2 separate regions of the Homo sapiens genome follow, and region 1 is linked to region 2. The links are contacts of gene promoters, found by promoter capture Hi-C in blood cells and fetal thymus (Javierre and others, 2016). All regions are on one chromosome and are shown on one strand. The core of a region is centred on a gene start or on the middle of the fragment in contact, and the rest is flanking DNA. Distances in the headings are between cores, read along the strand shown. Region 1 holds the start of CFAP141 (cilia and flagella associated protein 141). Region 2 holds the start of YY1AP1 (YY1 associated protein 1).

Region 1 (4,648 bases), core at 7-2,506, 1.5 Mb before region 2:
TTTCACCATGTTGCCTAGGCTGGTCTTGAACTCCTGAGCTCAGGCAATCCTCCTGCCTCAGCCTCCCAAAGTGCTAGGATTACAGGCGTGAGCCACCGCGCCCGGCTGCATCAGTTTTTTCAAAAGTTCATCAGGGTGAAAAGGATACGTAGCCCAGTCTTGTGAATCTTCTCATTCACTGGTTCAACAAATACTGCACTACCAACCACATAATTAGTACAAAGCCAGGCAACAAATACTTGAATTCTTGATAAAAAAAGAAAATAAAAACATGCTTCAATTTTTCTCCAGAGAATGAGGCAGGGGACAATAAAAACCAATCTATATCACCTAACCTAGTAGGCACTAAGAGGCTGATCTCATTTGCTTTGAGGACAAGGCTGCTTCTCACCCCTTCCGCATCTGTTTTCCTCTTGATGAGCCCCTAAAGAGATGCAGCAGAGTTGGGAGGTGGCTCAGGGAAGACAGCAGAGTGGAAAGGTCAAGCTCAAAGGTAAAGGGAGGGGATAGAAGCAGATTACCTGTCGACCGTCTTCTTAAGTCCCATGGCCTTTTGAAAACTCTGCAAGAAAAGGTAGTTCTGTTGATCTGCCTCAGTCTCCAGAACCTCTATTCTAATGAGAGACATAGACCTTTTTTTTTTTTGAGACAGAGTTTTGCTCTTGTTGCCCAGGCCAGAGTGCAGTGGCGTGATCTCGGCTCACCGCAATCTCCGCCTCCCGGGTTCAAGCGATTCTCCTGCCTCAGCCTCCGAGTAGCTGAGATTATAGGAATGCACCACCATGCCGGGCTAATTTTGTATTTTTAGTAGAGATGGGGTTTCTCCATGTTGGTCAGGCTAGTCTCGAACTCCTGACCTCAGGTGATCCGCCCACCTCAGCCTCCCAAAGTGATAGGATTACAGGCGTGAGTCACCGCACCCAGCCACATAGACCTTTTTGAGAAAGCAATTTCCTGGGGGGAAATAGGGAGAGGAAAGCTCTACTTTCAGAATGGATCAAAGAAAACACGCAGGGGTTGGATAGAACACATATTTGAATACCTACTGTGTACTAGACACAGCCTCCCACTCCTGTTACTAACTACATTATACCCTTGTTACATCAAAAGCCTTTCCCAGTAAAAGATGCACTTATAGTAAATTGATCTGGAAACTTCATCAAACTTCAACCCAGCCCCTCCTTCCAACTCTGCATACCTCTTCTACTTTTGTCATCTTTTCCACAGACATGTCTATAGATTTGCTTGATACAGTCTGAGGAGACTGACAGGCTCCTCTGTTTAGTTCAGTAACCAAGGTTTCAGTAGTCATAGTAACATTTACACCTCCAACAATAACCCTGGGCCTAGGAGTTGATTGGCCACCTGGCCTGTTGCCCCAGAAACCTTGAGAGAATCCTTGTTCTGCAGCCTTCTGTTGGTGACACAGGCATCTATGAGCAAGGGCCACAGTCCTGATTTTAGGATTTCTTGTGCTAGGGTCCCAAGGAGTATGTGTATGGTCGTAGGTCCAGGGTATGCACACAGTCCCACCAATTCTCTGGAGGCAAATCCTCATGCCCTATACCCTGTTAGAAATGTGCAGATAACATTATCAAATGCCTGTTTTATTAAAAGACAACTATAAAGGACTGATTCATACGTTTTATTTGATAATAGTTCATTTTATTAAATAATTTATAAAGTCAGACCAGTGCATTGGGCTTGTTAGGGGAAACCATTCCTTCCTACTGTCACATAGCCTGGCAGATTATATCAGGTGCCAAAACATTCCCTTTTATTCAATTTATTAATGAGAGTGTGGAATTAAAGTAGATCCTTGCATGTCAGGAAAGCTGCAACACATCTGGTTTAAGTGGAGCACAAAGGTAAGTTATTCCACATTCACCAACTTCCCCACTTGACCTCCCACCAGTTCCTGTCTGCTTTTTCCATCAATCAACTCTAAGATGCCCTAAACCCAAACAGTTCCCATTCAACTGTGCACAAAGGTATAGATATGGAAGACATCTCACTCCAACTCTCACCTTTGGAATTAAATAAACCTGGAACAGGGAAGGTGAACTATGGCTGAAACCAAGTGAAGATTTTTAAGAAGCTTTGACAGAAACATTAAGAATAACACCTGAATGCAAATCCAGAAAAAAGCGCTACTGGGGGAAAATAGTCTTAGCCAATGTTCTAAAAATGCTCATAAGGAAGGGTTGGGGAATTACCCTTTAGACACAAGCTCTAAGAACTCTGGATACAACGGGAACTTGGATGGATACAGTCTGGGCCTGCTGGGCCAGATGTTCCGAGGGCGGCCCGGCAAGCAGCCTGTCTTGCACATTGCAACTGACTGGCTTAATCTACGGCAAGAGTCCTTCAGCTCCGTCACAGAGTACTCTCCAATGTGTTATAGTTATCCTTAAAGCTCTTCAATTCAAGGAAGTGCTTGGCACGTTTACTCTTCTGACTGGAGGGGAGGTATGTCACCTGGATGGTTGTTGGGGAGACCTCAGGGGACTGAGTTAGGTCTTTGGCTGCTGACTGGTGATGTCGCTGAGAGCTCCCAATTCGTGCTTTAACCCTGAAGAACAGAGAGGGGAGGTCATTGACAGAATGAGGACTAATCAAAGAAATCAGGGCTTATCCCAGGCCATAAATGCAGCAATAGTCACAAATAGTTATTTGTGTCCTATCTGTCCTATTTTGTAAACTAGTTACTAAAACCCCATCTAGTAGCTTAGAAATACAAGAGGCTGAGCGCGGTGGCTCACGCCTGTAATCCCAGCACTTTGGGAGGCCCAGGCAGGTGGATTGTTTGAGGTCAGGAGTTCGAGACCAGCCTGGCCAACATGGTGAAACCCTGTCTCTACTAAAAATACAAAAATTAGCTGGGAGTGGTGGCGGGTGCCTGTAATCCCAGCTACTCGGGAGGCTGAGGCAAGAGAATCACTTGAACCCAGGAGGCAGAGGTTGCAAGCCAAGATTGCGCCACTGCACTTCAGCCTGGGTGACAGAGCAAGACTCCATCTCAAAAAAAAAAAAAGTAGCAGAGAGGCTGGGCATGGTCACTTATACCTGTAATCCCAGCACTTCAGGAGGCAGAGGCCAGAGATCGCTTGAGCCCAGGGGAGTTTGAGACCAGTCTGGGAAACAAAGTGAGACCCTATCTCTGCAAAAAATTAGCCAGGTATGGTGGCAAGCACCTGTAGTCCTGGTTCCTCAGGAGGCTGAGGCAGGAGGATCGCTTGAACCCAGAATTCGAGGCTGCAGTGAGCCATGAATGTGCCACTGCACTCCAGTCTGGGCGACAGACTGAGACCCTGTCTCTCTCTCTCACACACACCCTAAAAAAGTAGCAGCACTCCAGCCTGGGTGACAGAATAAAGGCCCTGTTTGGGTACCCTGACACACACCTACTCATACCAAAAACAACTAGCAGCAGAGAAACCAATTTCCCAGAGTTCTTGCCTCTGGCTCAAGCTTTTTTTTCAGAGACAGGTATCCCCAATATAGGTATCACCTTGTTTTGCAGATTAGGAAACTAAGGGTCCAATAATTAGCTTGTATGAGGTCACAAAACTAGTTAAGTGACAGACCTGGGATTCAAACCTAAGTTTGTCAGATTTCAAAGCCTATACTCTTCACTAAACCCAATGAACATTCCTAGAAACTACAAATCAAACATAATTTTTTGTTTTTGAGATGGAGTCTTTTTCTCTGTTGCTCAGGCTGGAGTGCAGTGGCACAATCTTGGCTCACTGCAACCTCTGCCTCCTAGGTTGAAGCGACCTGTCTCGGCCTCCCGAGTAGCTGGGGATTGCAGGTGCATACCACAATGCCCAGCCAATTTTTCTATTTTTAGTAGAGACAGGGTTTCACCATGTTGGCCAGGCTGGTCTTGAACTCCTGACCTCAGGTGATCCACCCGCCTCAGCCTCCCAAAGTGCTGGGATTACAGCCGTGAGCCACCATGCCTGGCCTTCAGAAATAATTTTTAAAAAGATTGTGGTAAAATACATGTAACATAAAATTTACCATCTTAAGAATTTTTAAATGTATGGTTCAGTAGTGTTAAGTATATTCACAGTGTTGTGCAACCAACCTCCACATTTTCATCTTGCAAAACTGAAACTATACCCAGTGAACAACTCCCTATTTCCCCCACTCTCCAGCCCCTGCAACCATCATTCTACTTTCTGTCTCTGAGTTTGACTACCTAGGTATCTCATATAACTGGAATCATCTAGTATTTATCTTTCAAAGAAAGTGAATTTTGAACAGGCTTCTGCTGACTTCTAGACCAAATGCCCTTTTCCAGCCTTTCTACATGTTCATTTTCATCAGTGCTCTAAGCAGTTTTTTTTTTTTTTTTTTTTGAGACAGTGTCTCACTCTGTTGCCCAGGTTAGAGGGCAGTGGCATGATCTTGGCTCACTGCAACCTCTGCCTCCCAGGCACAAGTGGTACACGCACCTCAGCTCCTGAGTAGCTGGGACTACAGGTAGGTGGTCGCCACCACTCCCAGCTAATTTTTTTTCGAGATGGAGTCTTGCTCTGTTGCCCAGGCTGGAGTGCAGTGGCGCGATCTTGGCTCACTGCAAGCTCCGCCTCCTGGGTTCATGCCATTCTCCTGCCCCAGCCTCCCACGTAGCTGGGAC
Region 2 (4,484 bases), core at 1,376-3,875:
CTCAGCCTCCCCGAGTAGCTGGGACTACAGGCGCCCGCCACCACGCCCGGCTAATTTTTTGTATTTTTAGTAGAGACGGGGTTTCATCCTGTTAGCCAGGATAGTCTCGATCTCCTGACCTCGTGATTCGATCTCCTGACCTCGTGATCCGCCCACCTCGGCCTCCCAAAGTGCTGGGATTACAGGTGTGAGCCACCGCGCCCTGCCGAAATCAGTCTTTCAAAGGATTCCTTCAGCCCAGCCAAGAAGTTCCAACATCCACAGGCACATATATTAACAATTACCAGTACCCAAAAACAGTTCTCTGGTTTTAATTCCACACTGCCTCCCTCAACTTAATACCTACCACCGTCAAAACAACTCCCCTCAGATTGCATCCAGGCTATTTACAGAGACACCTTGATGATCCTCACCTCAAGGCATGGACCATTCATTGAATGGTTATATTTGTTGAATGAGTGAAAAAGGATCCTTCCTCCCACAGATTTCAAGTTAAGCTGTCAGCACCCATGCAGCTGCTCTGGTACAAGTTAAGCTGTGAAAGCCTTCTCCCTCACGCATACAACCTTAAGTGTCAGAAATGCTCTGCTTCCTCCATAAATCCAAAATAATATAGCCATGGATATGCATTTCATACAGGTCAGACTCGGCAAGGACAGCTACGTTCCACATACATATCTGACACAATCGGTCTCCCCCAAATACAAGCCAACCAGTCTTATGTGCTCCTATCTTTCCAGCATACTCAGATTTGCCGACAAAGACTTCCTGAGGCACCATGGTATGCTGAATATACTGCTGCAGTAGTAGTGAAAATATGGGAGTTACAGTTCCAACTTTGTCACCAATTTAACATGCGGCCTTGGAGAAGTTCTCTCCTTATGCCTAAATTTCCTATTTTGTAAAATGGAAGAAAGCATCCTACCATTTTCACAGAGATTCAGTATCACAAAGAAACTGAAAGAGCTTTCTTATTGTATTGTAAACTATTACTATAAACCCGCGACAACAAATAAGGCCACCCATTCTTTACAGCTTTGTAGCAATGATTCTGTTAAAGATATTTTGGCCCTTCACATTTACACAACTCACTCTAACCAAAGGCACAAACTATTCTTAAGACCACAACTGGCTATGCCAAGTTTCTCCCCTCCCTGACCTCACAGACACATGCTGTACAGAACACTACCATTGCCGCTCTTTCCCAACAAGTAACTAGGGGCTCCCAATCCCTAAAATACACACACATATCAACCTGCAAGGAACCTCCCAACATTTATTCAAGAAATAAGCTAACTTATAAGGGGAACTCCATTACACTTACACAAATAAAGGCAAACTCTTACGGAAACACTTGCCATCCTCACATACACACACCAACACAGCCGCTACACACCAACAGACCATCTGTCTGCTAGACCAAAAACATCTCTTTCCATGTACAAACTAACCAGTGACATTTATTAAACGTACAACACTGAGATCATCCTGTCGTTCCCACATACCGTTCAACGCGGCAGGGACACCACAGACCTTGTCACACAGGTAAAATCCCCTCTCAAGATCGTGTCCTCGACCACTCTTATCCCTTAATTAAACACACACAAACTGGACTATGGGGGAGGCTCCGATCATGCCTACAAACACAAACTAACCTGTCAGGGGCACAGCCGACTCCGCCTCCACTCGCTTACTTCCCAGCCCCCTCCGGGAGTCTGCCTGTCAGGGACACCCCTTCACCCCGCCTGGAGGGACTTCCCGGTAGGCTCAGGATCCCCCTCCCTGCTCTCCCCTCCCCCATCTTCACCACTGCTCTCCCAGAGGTCCAGGTCCGGGAGATGACAGTGGCTCCCAGAAAGCCCAGGATTCAATCGCTGAGAGAGTGCTTAGGCCCGAATGCCGGCCCAAATCGTTCTACTCACCGTGTCGGAGGCCGAGAGCGATGAGAGTACAGGGAAGTGAGGAAGAGGGGGTGGCCGCCAGGCTCCTCCGCTTCCCTGGGTCCACCGCGGATCCCTCCCGCTTGTCAGGAGGCGGCCAGCGGGTAAGCCGACTGGCGGAAATGCGAGAGAGGAGAAGGGAAAGGTGGAGGGCTAAAGGGGCAAACTGAGAGGAGGCGGATCCCGCAACCGACACTGGGATCGTTTCCCCTCGCAAAGCGAACCCAAAATGGCGGCGGCAGCGGCGGCAGCAGAGTGGCCGCGGCAGCTCCTCCAGAGGGAGGGAGCTAAGGGCGCCTAGCGACACCCCCAACCTCCCACTCCTCCCTCCTCGCGTTCTTCCCCACGGTCCCCCGCTTCGCCCGACTCCGGCCATGTAGCGCGCACGTCAGCCCGCACGCGTACGAGTGTCTACGGGCTCGTCGCTGGCTGCTCCCACCAACCACCACCTTCGGCCGTCCTGCGAGCCAGCCATCCCGTACGCGCTCACCCACGGGAACCTCCTCGCCCAGTTCTCCACTCCCCCTCAGACCCTGTCAAGCCGGCTCCAGCGCAGGCCCTCACGCGTACCTTCAGCGGCGCGAGCCCAAGCCTTCTCCACCTCCTCTTCTCTCCTCCCCCTCCCTCCCCGCCCGCACGGCCACCAACCGCCGCCAAAGCAGCCGCCGCCAGCACCCCCACCCTACACTCCTCGCGCGTGCGCCTCCCACAGTCCCCACCGCGGGACTGTTCCATTCCTGGCGGCTGCAGGGGCAGGAGAGGAAGGGACCGGCAAAGCGAGTCTGGCTTGCCGTTTGACTGGAATTGCCAGGGTGGCCGGCCGAGTCCCATGACAACCTACCTCCCTGGGTTCGTCGCCGCGGCGCTGCGGCTCGCCTCCTCCTCCATGGGACCGCGGCGAGGGGATCGAGGGCGGCCTAGCGCCCCTCTGCCGGCCGGTGGTTGGAGGCCGCGGCGGCTGCGCGTTGAGTCGTTTCCTGCCGGATGACCCGACCCTTTTTTGCAGTCTCAGGACGGGCGCTTTGGAGCCGGCCCCAGGCAGCGTGTGTCGGTCGCCTAGTCTGGAGAACTAGTCCTCGACTCACGGTGAGGGAATGGACCGACACGGGTATTGTACCGCTGAGGGAAAGGAGCGGGACTCCGGACCTCCAGGAGGTAGGGAGTGAGGCCGGTAGACCGGCGCGCCTCCGGGGGGGATTCCTCCCGGGCGTTGAGTTGCCAACCTGGGACCCGAGGAAGTTCGGCGTGGTGGTGTGCTTTTTGTTGTTGTTAACCCTCCTCGGATTTCTCGAATTTCACACCACTGTCCATATGCGATGATGTTTGTTTGCCCTTGACGCACTTACTCATGGATGGTACTTCAGCCTCGTTAGACAGCCTGGTGATGGAGGATGAAGAAACCATGTGCTTCTCATTCAGTTCTGGACTCAGTTTCCCTTGTCTTCAGCAAGTTATTTTTGTTAGTTCCTTATCAAAAAGTGTACATAAAAATTAGGCAACTCCAAACATGCCTCCAGGGTTGGTGTGTGAAATAATAAGATAGGGCTGGGCGCGGTGGCTCACGCCTGTAATCCCAGCACTTTGGGAGGCCGAGGCAGGTGGATGACAAGGTGAAGAGATCGAGACAATCCTGGCCAACATGGTGAAACCCCGTCTCTACTAAAAATACAAATATTAGCCGGCCGTGGTGGCGGGCGCCTGTAGCCCCAGCTACTCGGGAGGCTGAGGCAGGAGAATTGCTTGAACCCGGGCGGCGGAAGTTGCAGTGAGCCGAGATCGCGCCACTGCACTCCAGCCTGGCGACAAAGCGAGACTCCGTCACACACACACACACACACACGAAATAATAATATATGTAAAGTGGAATTAGCTCCTAGGCATAGGGAAGGTGCAGAGTATTGCCGTGTTGTCATTTACAGTTCTGTTGATGTCGATAACGTTTGTGGGTGTAATGGGTAGTGTTCTGTCCCTCCAAGTCGTTAATAAAACAAAGCAGGCCGGGCGTCTTGTTAAATAGTTGTATCAATGACTTGATTTAGATTAATGAGGATATATTTTTCAAATTTATGCCTTTTACAAAATTTTTAAAGAGTAGGTAATGTCGGTGATAGATATAAAGAAAGGAAAAGATCTCCAGATGTGGAATCTTCTACTGGATCCTGTAACAGAAAGAAGACATTAGGCTGGGCGCAGTGGCTCACACCTGTAATCTCAGCACTTTGGGAGGCGGAGGAGGGCGCATTGCTTGAGCCTAGGAGTTCGAGACCAGCTTAGGCAACACGGTGAAACCCCATCTCTACAAAAAGACACAAAAATTAGACAGGTGTGGCACACGCTTGTAGTCTGAGCTACTTGGGAGGCTGAAGCAGGAGGATTGAGGAAGAGGTTGCAAAGTTAGCCGAGATCACGCCATCACACTGCAGCCTAGGTGACAGAGCGAGACCCTGTCTCAAAAAAAGAAAGAAGACATTAGCAGAAAAGCTGAGGAAATGCAAATAAAGTCTGCAATTTTTAAATAGTATTGTACCAGCTTTAATTTCTTAA

The links. The method cuts DNA at HindIII sites, captures the fragments that hold promoters and counts their contacts. A CHiCAGO score of 5 or more calls a contact.
Region 1: the fragment with the promoter of CFAP141 here is called in contact with the fragment with the promoter of YY1AP1 in region 2 in 1 of 17 cell types (neutrophils); the score reaches 5.1 in neutrophils.

What each region holds. Positions count from the first base shown.
Region 1 is chr1:154,205,077-154,209,724 of GRCh38, forward strand. CFAP141 (cilia and flagella associated protein 141) reads right to left here and starts at 1,257. Exons shown (of 4, transcript NM_001010979.3): 1 at 1,199-1,257; 2 at 522-562. The coding sequence starts at 1,231. It overlaps LTAP1 (lipid transport auxiliary protein 1), which reads right to left. Exons shown (of 7, transcript NM_001098616.3): 7 at 1,644-2,572. The coding sequence ends at 2,377. The HindIII fragment of the contact is 7,725 bases long and covers 1-2,096 here.
Region 2 is chr1:155,686,149-155,690,632 of GRCh38, forward strand. It overlaps YY1AP1 (YY1 associated protein 1), which reads right to left and starts at 2,626. Exons shown (of 11, transcript NM_139119.3): 1 at 2,511-2,626; 2 at 1,923-2,053. It overlaps DAP3 (death associated protein 3), which reads left to right and starts at 2,943. Exons shown (of 13, transcript NM_004632.4): 1 at 2,943-3,026. It also overlaps the pseudogene LOC124904430. RefSeq lists enhancers at 2,032-2,666, 3,042-3,091 and a silencer at 2,502-2,551. The HindIII fragment of the contact is 12,603 bases long and covers 1-4,484 here.